Linked DNA regions of Homo sapiens: regions 2 and 3 are each linked to region 1. The links are contacts of gene promoters, found by promoter capture Hi-C in blood cells and fetal thymus (Javierre and others, 2016). All regions are on one chromosome and are shown on one strand. Each heading gives the region's core, a stretch centred on a gene start or on the middle of the fragment in contact. The rest is flanking DNA. Distances are from core to core; before and after follow the strand shown.

The links. The method cuts DNA at HindIII sites, captures the fragments that hold promoters and counts their contacts. A CHiCAGO score of 5 or more calls a contact.
Region 2: a contact is called between a fragment that was not itself captured here and the fragment with the promoter of C5orf67 in region 1, in 2 of 17 cell types (naive B cells and total B cells). The highest score is 7.2, in naive B cells.
Region 3: a fragment that was not itself captured here is called in contact with the fragment with the promoter of C5orf67 in region 1 in 2 of 17 cell types (total B cells and naive B cells); the score reaches 7.8 in total B cells.

The regions. Positions count from the first base shown.
Region 1 is chr5:56,604,199-56,607,926 of GRCh38, forward strand. C5orf67 (chromosome 5 putative open reading frame 67) reads right to left here and starts at 2,058. Exons shown (of 6, transcript NR_161255.1): 1 at 1,824-2,058. The HindIII fragment of the contact is 384 bases long and covers 1,717-2,100 here.
Region 2 is chr5:56,520,061-56,523,747 of GRCh38, forward strand. The region is part of intron 4 of C5orf67 (chromosome 5 putative open reading frame 67); the gene reads right to left. Among named protein-coding and RNA genes, the nearest start is that of LINC01948, 40 kb to the left of the region's middle. The HindIII fragment of the contact is 3,906 bases long and covers 1-3,490 here.
Region 3 is chr5:56,717,513-56,721,467 of GRCh38, forward strand. No RefSeq gene overlaps it. Among named protein-coding and RNA genes, the nearest start is that of MAP3K1, 96 kb to the right of the region's middle. The HindIII fragment of the contact is 396 bases long and covers 1,528-1,923 here.

The DNA of each region.
Region 1 (3,728 bases), core at 808-3,307:
GAGCCAAGCTAAGGGCAGTTGGAAGCTGGCCCATGAATAAAATTCCCTGCGTGCAGCTGTAAAACATACACCTGTCCTTCAGGGACTGAGTTCAGGATAACCAAACATTCCTTATAATAAGTCTGCACACTCTGCTGTGCCAACAGAGAAGACCAATTATATGTGTGAGACGATCTGCCATGAACTACTTGGTCTCTGCTGGCCATTTTAGTACTAAAATTTATGACAGCACTAAGCAAAACTCCCAAAGTGCAGAAAGCTGGGGGCTGGGGCAGATCAAGTCAAACATGTCGCCTACACAGGCCCCTCAGTCTCCTTCCTCAAGCCAAGCTTCCACTCTTCCCCCCGCCCCGGGCCACTCTCTGCAGGACAGGGTGTTCAGAAATTGCTTGAAAAGGGAGAATTATCTTGAAACCAAAGACATTCATTTAGACTTGAACAAAGGTGGTTGTTTGAGGGAATACTAGGGAAAAAACAACTTAGAAGAAGGGAAAGGAGGCATATAGATGGAAGTTAAGTCAGACTCCACATAGTTTCAATTAATATGATTTTTGGAAAGGCTCTTACATCCTCATTTCTGTGGAGGCCGACTTGGCCAAAGTGCTGAACCAAAGTTTTGCCATATAGAACACAGCCACACAAACAGGCCCCTCCTAGTCAATCACTGAATCCAGCCTCTCCAGACTCAACAATCTGACTTAGGATCTCAGAATTCCAGGAAATACTAGGGATGGCTTGGCTGCCTCCTTGGTTATAGGTGAGGAAACAGGCGAATGGTGAAATGACTTAACCAAAGTTCCCAGAGCTGGCACATTTATAGCTGAGATCTCCCAATACTGTTGTCTTACTCCTGCACGCAAAAATTAGTGGATGTTTTGTTCTTTTTTTGTCTTTCAAAGGACTTGGTTTCATTGTTAAAAGAAACCTCACTGCAAGTTACCAAGCTGTCAAACCCTGAGGCGGGATGAGCCACTATTTTTCAAATCCGTGCACCAGTAGTGCTTCTGTGACATCACCCAACACAGAATATCTTAAAATCGATTTCAGGAATGGATCTCGTAACCAAAAAACAGCTTGTTCAGAAAGGGGCACCTATGCACGTAGCAGATGCCTTCTATCTGGTCTCCATCTTCTATCAGGTCTCCCTTTCTCTCTCTTTATTACTGCCCCCCACCTCTGGGAAACTGCCACACCCAGCCACTAAGACCAAGACTTTGCGCACTAAGACTGTGTCGACAGATAAGCAGAAAAGTACAGCACTAGTTTCATCTAGTGTTCTGCCCTGTGTTTCAGTTGAGAGAAATTTCACACATATACACAGACACAGACACACACACACATACTCTCTCTCTCTCTCTTCCTAAGAAATGAATATAGAGCAGCTAAAACCAGATAAGTTCTAGATCCCTGAGGCTTGAGACCCAAGCCTGAGACTGTTCTTAATTGGCCTCATTGACAGCAGATGCCCAGCTCCTCTGCCCCACTCTCTAGGATCCTGCACAGATGTGGCCAAATTCTTCCCCACCAAACCAGCTTTAGACTCTCCTGGGCCTGGCGATCCATGCCTTCTTCTTCACCCCTCTCCTGAAGATTCCTGTGACTATGGGTCTGGAAGCCCTTTCTGCCAAGACACCACTTTCCTCTTCTGGTCTCATTTGGTTTGTCTGACCCTTGGCTGGTTCTAATCCTTGGTGGATTCCTTCACATACTGCTCTAAGCTTGCCCTTTGACTGCATTACCTCGAGCCTTTCTACAAGGCACCAGCTCTATTTCCTGGCCAGAAGTAGAAATTCCCTCCCCCGCTGCGCAGAAGTCCCACTCACAGAATTCGGCTTCATTGCTTCTCTGCCTCTCCAGCTCCATTCCTCGAAGAGCAGAGATGACAAGATGTAGGTTCTGTGTATGCATCCATGTTCTCACTGATGGCTCAGCCAGCATCTCTAAAGTTTTTTTTAATGATTAAGGGCCTTTGGGTTCCCCTGTGGCACTTCCTTGGAGGTAAGGGCTCAGGTGAAGTTGTTCATTTGGCTGTTGATCCCAGGGGAGCACAGGGAATATGAAACAGGGAAGAGAGGAAAGCTAATAAAGAATGTGTTAAGAAGCTTTGGGCAATCAGGGCTTCCTCTAGCAGGAAACCCTTAGGAGACTGCAGAACATTCCTTGGAATGAGGGCAAGGACTTTGGATTATTTATCCAGCCAGGACTTTCCCTCTTTGGCCAAGGGTCATTCCTTGGGCAATAATTCCCTGGCACTTGCAGACTAACCTGTGTGCTTCCAAGCTCATTTCTTTTTTCTTTTTTCCTTTTGTCTTTTTTTTTTTTTGAGATGGAGTCTTGCACTGTTGCCCACGTTGGAGTGCAATGGTGCGATCTCGGCTCACTGCAACCTCTGCCTCCTGGGTTCAAGTGATTCTTCTGCCTCAGCCTCCTGAGTAGCTGGGATAACAGGTGCCCGCCACCACACCCAGCTAATTTGTTGTGTTTTTAGTAGAGATGGGGTTTCACTATATTGGCCAGGCTGGTCTTGAACTCCTGACCTTGTGATCCGCCTGCCTCGGCCTCCCAAAGTGCTGGGATTACAGGTGTGAGCCACCATACCCAGCCGCTTCCAAGCTCATTTCTATGGCTGAAGAATGCCCTCAGGCAGAGAGAAGCAGGAGGTTGTCTGTCTACACAGCATGTGACTACAGCCAAACTCTGGGGTGGCCAAGGGGACATGGGTTGGACACCAACAGCGTCTGCTACAAAAGTGGTTGTTGCCACCCCTCAGAATCCCCCTCTCTGTGTGATCTTCCAGATTCAATGTAATACGTACTGAATGCTGCCAAATATAATGTACCAGACTAGACTCAGGTAATCACAAAGATGTGTAAGACAGAGTTCTTCTCCACACAGAACTTTCAATTTGATGTAAGAGACAAACAGAAATAAAAGTCTTTATAGAAAAGTAAGTCTTTATAGAATAAAGAAGAATATGAGAAGGGCTGTATTAGAGCCATGAATCACTGGCTGTGAGAGCTGCGGGAAGATGAGATTAATTTTGACTAGAGGGAGAAGGCTATCAGGGCAGTTTTCCAAAGCTAAAATATTTTAAACATATGCTAAATCGACAGACATCCAATTCCCACCAAGAGCAAAAGAATAAACATTCTTTCGCAGGGCCCTAAAGCCAGAAAGCAGTGAAAGAATTAGAACCATTTTATCTCAATTCACAAAAGGAAATAAGTGACATCTTTCAGTATCACCCCATCTTCTAGATGCAACGTTTAAAACCAAGTCACAAGAGCAAGATGTTCTTCCTGCTCCACGTTCAACTATGCATTTGAAATCTGTTCTCATTTGTCGAAATGAGCAATTAATTAACAGTCTTTGTGAAGTTCTCAGACTCAACAAGTGTGCCCCTCTCCTGCTGCCTCTGCCACAGGCAGCCACTTTGCATGTCCCTGCTTTTGAAAGACAACTTAGGAATGAAGCTAAACGAGACATCAGCAGTTTTCCAAATCCAGGTGAAGAAAGTGAATGACTTCAGCATGAAAGACAGGGCTGGGGCGACAGGGGAGAGCAGGAGACGGATGAGTCAGCCCATGTTCGTGGAAAGCTGGGGTTTGTTGGAAGAATCTCAAGCTTTCATTTTGTGGTGTTTGGAAGCTTAATTCCCAGCTTCTAATTAAACATATAAACTGTAATCACAAAGGTATTTCACAAGTAGTTCCTTGGATGTGGCAGGG
Region 2 (3,687 bases), core at 288-2,787, 85 kb before region 1:
ACAGATTTTACATACAGATTGATCAGGGGTGTAGTCCTGGTTCTGCCACTTCCTGGCTCTGTAATGTTCAGCAGGCCACTGAAACTCTGAGCTTTGGCTGCCAAACCTCTCTAAGGGACATAACACCCACTTTTCGAGGCTACTGTGAGGATTAAATGCAATAACAGAGGTAAGTGTGTGGCGTGAGCACAGCAGACTGCACCTGGAGTGAGCCTGCTGGACCCACAAGCCTGCTGGACTTCAGCTTTCCCCGCAACAGACCCCTGCTGCGCTTCCCAGTATGTACATCTGGAATCTGTCTTAGTTCCTTGCTCTAACCCAGCCTGGTTCCTGCCACATTCTTCACACCAAGGGAGGCCCTGCTCCCCAAGCCCCAGCCATTGCCTGGTGTCCTGCTGCAAACCCAGGGGATCCCTGGAGGCCACGATGCTGCCATTTGCCCGCACTCCAGCCCCTCTCCACCACCATGTCAGCCCCTGCCAGAGATGGATGCTGACACCCATGGATCCGAGCTCATTGCATTGTTTGGATGTAATTTTGATTTCATTGCTATTCACCTACAAAGTTGCCTAGCTCCTAAGCCCAAGTTCTGCCTTTTTCCACCTTATTCGCATCTTCCCATCAGCTAGCAAAGGATGGCTTTGAAATCTGTGCCTTATACACTGTACAATAAGTCCCATGGCTTATGACCATAACTAAGGTGATTATGTAATTTATTATCTAAATCATTACTTTTTGAGACTGAAAGGGCACAATCAGAGTTAACTAAATGTGTGGTCATTCAACCCATAACCCAGATAGCATTGGTCACTGGGGAGATGCAAGAGTGAGCCCAAGAAAGAAATTTTTGTCTTCATCTATCTCCTCTATGGGCTGTGCCTATGTTGCCTTCAGCTGTAGAGACGTCACTTGTAATTTTAGTTTGTTCTCATCAGCCCGCTCTGTTGTTATGGTTCACCTAGGGAAGCATCCAGCCACTAAGAAATAGAAGGGAGAACAATGCTTCACTGCCTGCCATGCCTGAGGCGCAGAGCGGCTGTTGGCTGCTCTGCCAGGAGCTCTGCAGGGACATGGCAGCCGTGCTCCGTGTGGGTGGGAAAGGTGGCAGCATTTTGCGGTGCTCGTCATTCTTATTTGACAACTGTTTGGGGTTTTAGAAACTCTTGGCATTGGTTTATAACACCCCACCCACCCTGTCTCGGTAACTACCATTTGCCCTCCCTACAAGAGGTCATGCCAATTCTGAGATGAGGCAAGGCAGGCTCAGCAGCCCTGGCTGGCTCCCACTCTGACACCTAAAGAGCTTTGTCTTGCCTCTGGTCAGACTCACAACTTCCTGTACCCCTCAGAATCAAGCCCTTATGAGGGGGTTCAAGTGCCAGAATGCTGACTTCCCACAGACTGGCAATGGAAATGCTTTCAGAAAGCATATTGAGTTAACATGATTTTTAGTCATTTGCATCATTATGAGAGAATCTGTGGGTGTGTGCCTTAGAGAGTGTGAACACATTTATTCTGGCGTTTGATAATATATTGCCATTTAAAGGAAATTCCCTTCAGCTCTTTTATTTCACCATCATGTATGGCCTTGAGCTAGCCCGCCATATGAACCTCCTAGGAGTAGGGTGAAATGGAGAAAGGAACCAGGACCAAGTTACCCTGTATACGTGACAGAGATAATGGAGGAGGGGGTACAAAAGTGCCCACTGAGGGGCTCAAATAATACTCTTTAAAGTCTCCCTGCAGGGCAGGGCATGGCAGCTCATGCCTGTAATCCCAGCACTTTGGGAGGCCGAGGCAGGCAGATCACGAGGTCAGGAGTTCAAGACCAGCCTGGGCAACATGGTGAAACTCCATCTGTACTAAAAATACAAAAATTAGCCGGGCGTGGTGGCAGGTGCCTGTAATCCCAGCTACTCGGGAGGCTGAGGCAGGAGGATCGCTTGAAACCAGAAGGCAGAGATTGCAGTGAACCGAGAGCGCACCACTGCACTCCAGCCTGGGTGAAAGAGCGAAACTCCATCTCAAAAAAAAAAAAAAAAGAGTCTCCCTGTATTGTGCCCCCACCTCAACTTTGAGAATTACCATTATATTTGTTTAAGTCCTCCTAAAACTAGTAATTATTGAGCGATTGCTTTGTACCAGCAGTTCCTAACCCACATAATCACCATGTGAGCAGGCACTGTGGTCCTCACTTTACGGATGTGAACACAATGGCCCACAGACCTTAAAACAGTTCCCCAAGAGCACACGCTAGTAAGAGGTAGCTCAGAGCCAGGTCTCTTGGCTTTGAAATCTGTGCCTTATACATTGCACAATAGTCCTCTCAATTTTATGCTGCAGACCTTAGCCACAACGGAGAGATTCAGTTCTGTGTGTGGTCCATTTATCATAATGACTGTCATCTCGGGTAGAATAGACAAGGACAAAATGTATACTGCCTACCTTTTTGAAAAAGAAGTATATTTGGTTGTTCTGGGATAAGGGATGGGGAAGAGAGTGAAAGCATTCAAATTAAATTATAAGGATATGATAGGCCAATTTAAAGATAATCAAAGTCTTTGGGTTTTCATTATTTTATTTTGCTTGGATTATTCTTGAATTGGCTGGAACTCCAAATCATGCTTAGAATTAATTCCCCAAATCTTGCATTTAGGAAAATGGCCTCAGAATGCAATTAATAAAATGGCAAATTTTAATTCATCATTCTAAATTCTCCATTACTTCAAACACATATTTCAGGCAGATTTGATATATAGGTATTTGAAATTACTAGGAGTCATAAAACAAGGCATTAAGTCTGGAATCTGGAATTTTCCCTTTAGAATAAACCTGCATTCGATGATTATTCCTACATGAAACTGTGCTATTGCAGCCCTTGCTCCATTATTCAACTTTGTAAATAGGGTAGATGGAATCATAGGAAGCAGTGCTGACAGTTACTAAAGTGTAGTTGGAGGCCTTTACAAGTTTAATAAAACGCAGGGGAAAGGGGAAGAAAAAGAATGGGGTTTGCCCTGGAAAGGAGATTCCAGGGTCAGGAGACAATTGTGTAACTTTCTGAGTTCTGCCCTCCCTGGGCCAGGCCAGGTCACTTGGCCAATTCTTGCCAAAACTTTTCAACCCAGTGACTCAGGAACTGGACTTTTCCATTCTAGCCTGTGGGAATGTGGCTGTGATTTTATAACTGAAGTCCACAGAACAATGGGATTTGCCTTTTGAAAAATTGCTTTTCAGACACCAGTACTGCAAAACACCTACTTCTACTGGCTCACCAGTGGAGCTCTTAAAACTTTTTAAAAACACTCAGTTCTTGGGTGAACAACACACCCAGCCTCTCCCCAATAACTAGAAAAAAAGGTCAGCATCCTCCACATTTGAAGGTCAAAGTCCTGGTCAAAGATGCTGTTTTGAGTCACCCATGGATAATGGCCAATTTGATAGAAGATATAGAAACAAACAAACAAACAAACAAAGACCATGTAAATCAAGCTTGCCTTTAGATGTTTGGCCTAGAATAGGGAGTATAGCTTAGTGCCTAAAAACTTGGACTGTGAAGAGAGACAGGTCTGGGTTCCAATCTCAACCACATAGGCAAGTTATTTAAACTCTATAAACCTTAGTTTCCCATCTGTAAAATGAAGATGTCGATTGTACTAACATATATTTGTTATGAGGATTACATTT
Region 3 (3,955 bases), core at 476-2,975, 110 kb after region 1:
CAGGAAGAAAGCTGAGGTTCTGAGTAAGTTGAATCAGAGAATATGAGGACAAAAAAAAAGGGAGAACCTGACAACTGGTTAATGTGGAGCAATTGTCAGCTTTAGAAGCCCATTCAGGCTGGAGAGAGACCCATCCTCCTAATATGACAGCCATGGGTCATGACAGAATTAGACCTGGGTTTTCCAGGTGTCTGTAGGTGTACCAGGGAAAGCCAGGAGAGCCAACAGCAGTTCCACACCAACCCAGCTCAGGAAGGCGGACCGAACAGCGGCACAGAAAGCAGCTTGTACAGTCAGCAACCCTGAAACAAACGCTCCTCTCCAATGCAATGCCAATCGGACTCCTTCGCCAGGAGTAAACGTGATTCTTCTTGCGATTAGTTCAGAAACTTGCCTTCCAGAGATTAAAAGAAAGCAGCTTTGGAGAGGTTGGATGCAGTTGTAAAAAGAAAAATGCCTGAGCTTTGCAGAGAAAGCTGGACATGTACTTGACCCAGTTACAATCTTCCTTTCTCTTTTTTCCTGCTGGTTCAGGAGCATATCTCTTTCCTTACTTGAAAGAAATGTTTCCTTTGCAGTGGGATTTTGATTTTAAAGTTAGGTTATGTTCATTTTAATTTTCTTTTCTTCTGTGTTTTTTCTTTTAAAAACATTATATGAAAATTAACAGTTGCTCCTTATAGAAAATATGGAAAAATACAAAAGAGAAAATTAAAATCACACCTAATTCTACCATTTGGATGATCACTGTTAATATTTTAATTTTTCTTTATTATTTTCAAGTCTTTTAAGTTTTCATTATGTTTGTGTATGTTCATATGTGTGTGTATGCACACACACGCATATATATATATATATATATATATATATATATATATATATAGTTATTTTACAAAATTGGGATTTTCCAAAATATCGTTTTGTGATCTGCTTTTTTCCACTTATTATAATGGAAACATTCTCAAGCAATTAAATGTGTTTCTTTGAAAACACATTTTTTAAATGACTACATAATTACTATTCCTTTTCAAGCTTTAACAGTCTGAGTGCAGTACATTAAATAAAATAATGTATCTATATTTTCCATTTTGATGTAACTTTAAGCCATTTGTGTTTGATTGCACTCATTTAATGTACTTCTCTATTGTTTTTGCAAGTTCAGACGCTTTAAGTGCAGCCAATTAAATTGAAAACACTAAGCACATCAGGAAAGATTTACCGATGGTATAAGCCACTAAAGAAACCTAAGCCAGCTGTTATTTCGCAAAACAGCTGTATCTATCTACAATCAAAGTCCACCTCCTATAAATAAGAGATTGCTTATTTGTTATGATTTTAGGTGCTACAGTAGGCTGGTTTCATTTTCTGGTGATGGCACTGTGTCTTCCCAAACATTCAGAAACCTTTTAACCCAATAGATGGCATTTAATATTAGACCATCGGCCATTTAGAAAAATCTAGATAATTGACTGCATTATTGGAAGGACTTAACTTTTGAACAGGTACTATTCCCAAAATCTGCTTTCAAGCTTGTTTGGAGCTCTTAGGAAACTTTCTCCCAAAGAAACGAGCTCTAAGAGGTGGGCAGCTGACAAGGAACCTGAGGCATCACATGCCATGCGAGGAGTTCCATCCAACAGCTCAGTGATGACTCTGGGAGAAAATGAATTCCAAACACTTTGGTGGGATCAGTGACTCTTTCTCACCTTTCACCCCAGCTAGCCAGCAGCAGGAATGAGGATTCCAGAGGAGAAACGTGGAAAACTCAAAAAGCAGAATTGGGAAAAGAAGGTTCCAGGGAAATCTGCCTCCTCCTCGGGGCCCTCTTGGTGTCCGTCAGCTTCTGGACACTCTTCTCTGAGCACCTCAGGGTGGCTCTACCTGCTTCGACTTTCTGCCATCATCACCTTTTCACATGCCTCAAGCTTCACACTCTACCCTGACCCACTTCCCAATTCTCTTAAGCCATCCTTTTCTTAAAGCAAGTTCAAAATCTTTTTTGAGGCTTTCAAAAAAGCACCTTGCTAGGAAACTGGGAAAAGAAAATTCAAAGCTCCCTCCTGAGTCAACTCATAATTGTAATATTCTATAGGGAAAGACAAGGATGACAGTAGGAAATAAGGCAGGTCTTACAGCACATAGAGGTCTAAAGAAAAACATGCGTCTGCATTTCAGAGGAACATTCTATGTCAATGACCTCTCTGAATATGGAGCCCCAGAAAAAAAGAAAGAAGAGCCAGACCCTAAAGGCAGAGACTAGGAATTCCACTTAAGGACCTCACAGGTAGCAAAGGGAGAAAACCTATGGAAGAATCAACTTCCTGTCTTCTTTTCCTCCCTTTTGCTATTATAATCGCCACCACCATCTGGATGAAAATGAAGGTACATTAAGAAGGGAATGAACATTTCCCAAGTTCTTGTCATTGATCAAGAATTGGTCTCTTGCAGAAGAGGGAATGAGACTCAGGGAGGTTAAGTAAGAAACAAGGACAAAAGTGGAGCAGTGCGAGGATGCCATTCTTCTCAGGAGCAAAGCCAACAACCAATTGGAGGACAGAAGGAAGTCCCAAAGAGTGTCAGCTGCGAGGGGAGGGTAGCCCTGTTTCTTGACTGCCCATCCCTGATCCTGAGAAAAATAGGCTTCCATTCCAAAGACTGCCCCTGCATTTGGAATGGATGTAAGGCATGCATCTGTAAATTGGGGCTGCGATTTGATTTTCATTCAGATGTTTTGGCATCATACACACACCACCAGGGCATGTTTTAGTTTCTACCAAAACAAAAGAAGCTCAGAAGAAGTTCTTTATAATTAAGTCTTTCCAACCAGGCAGCCACTCCTCCTTCTCCAGACTTCACTGTAAAGCTCCAAATTTGGTTCCAGGATCCCACTGAAGCCTACAGTCTAGAAACAAGTCAGGATTTAAACGTGGATTCTATTATTCCCAAAAGGAATGGTGCCATGTCTTACTTTCTGTTGTTTTTATGTAAACTTAACAGGATTTTTTTTTTCTCTTTCAGGATCACCCAATTGTAAATTTCATAGCTTCTTTCTTTTCCCTTTAGCTGTTTATATCAGTTTTTCAAATGGTTCATATAAAAAGTTTATATACTCTAAAGCCTTCCAATAAATCTAAGTTGTATACACTGTGATCTCTAGAAAAGTTACCTTTTCTATGGTAATTAACTTAGAGCTGTATTGTCTTATTTTAATAAATCATTTAACACTTGATATTCTCATTGACAAATAATATTCATTAAAAAAATTCCTAAGCAGAAGAGATGGATTAGAAGTTCAGACAATAATTGATATCTTAATAAAGATTCCTTCATATTTAGCAGATTACATTTTATCGCTCAGTTTAGAAATTGGCATCCCAAATGTTGTAGAAACAAAAATATGAGTATTCTTGGGATAGTCTTATTTTGAAAGCGTAAGAAAACCCTTGACAATTGTACACAAAAGATCCAGACTCTCAGCAGTGACTTGGGAGGAGGATGCAGTTCCTAACAGCAGCAAGGCAGCAAAAAAAAAAAAAAAGGCACCTCACCTACTTATAAAGGAAAAATTATTTGGACCTATTCTTGTGCTCAATTGTCCCCTCAGCATAGAATATATGCAACTGCTTCATTAGCACCACCATCAATTAGAAGTTCTTTGCAGTCTAAACATATTGGACAACTTTATTTCTGAAGGGAAGCAGTGTCCAGTTCCCCAGGCTATTGCAATGCCAAATCCCAGAAGCAAAACAAGATTTTCTTCATTGCTCTAATGGGACGCAAGATGTTCCTGAGGTTTAAAGTTTGACTTTTACAGGCACTTTCCTTTTGCCTTCAGAACTATTTTATACTTACGTGGTATGGTCCTTCAATTTCCACAGGCAAATTTATTTCCTAAAACAGAAGTCAAAAGTCAAAGAAGACTAAAAGACTTCAGTCCAGAGACTTCTGAAGACCT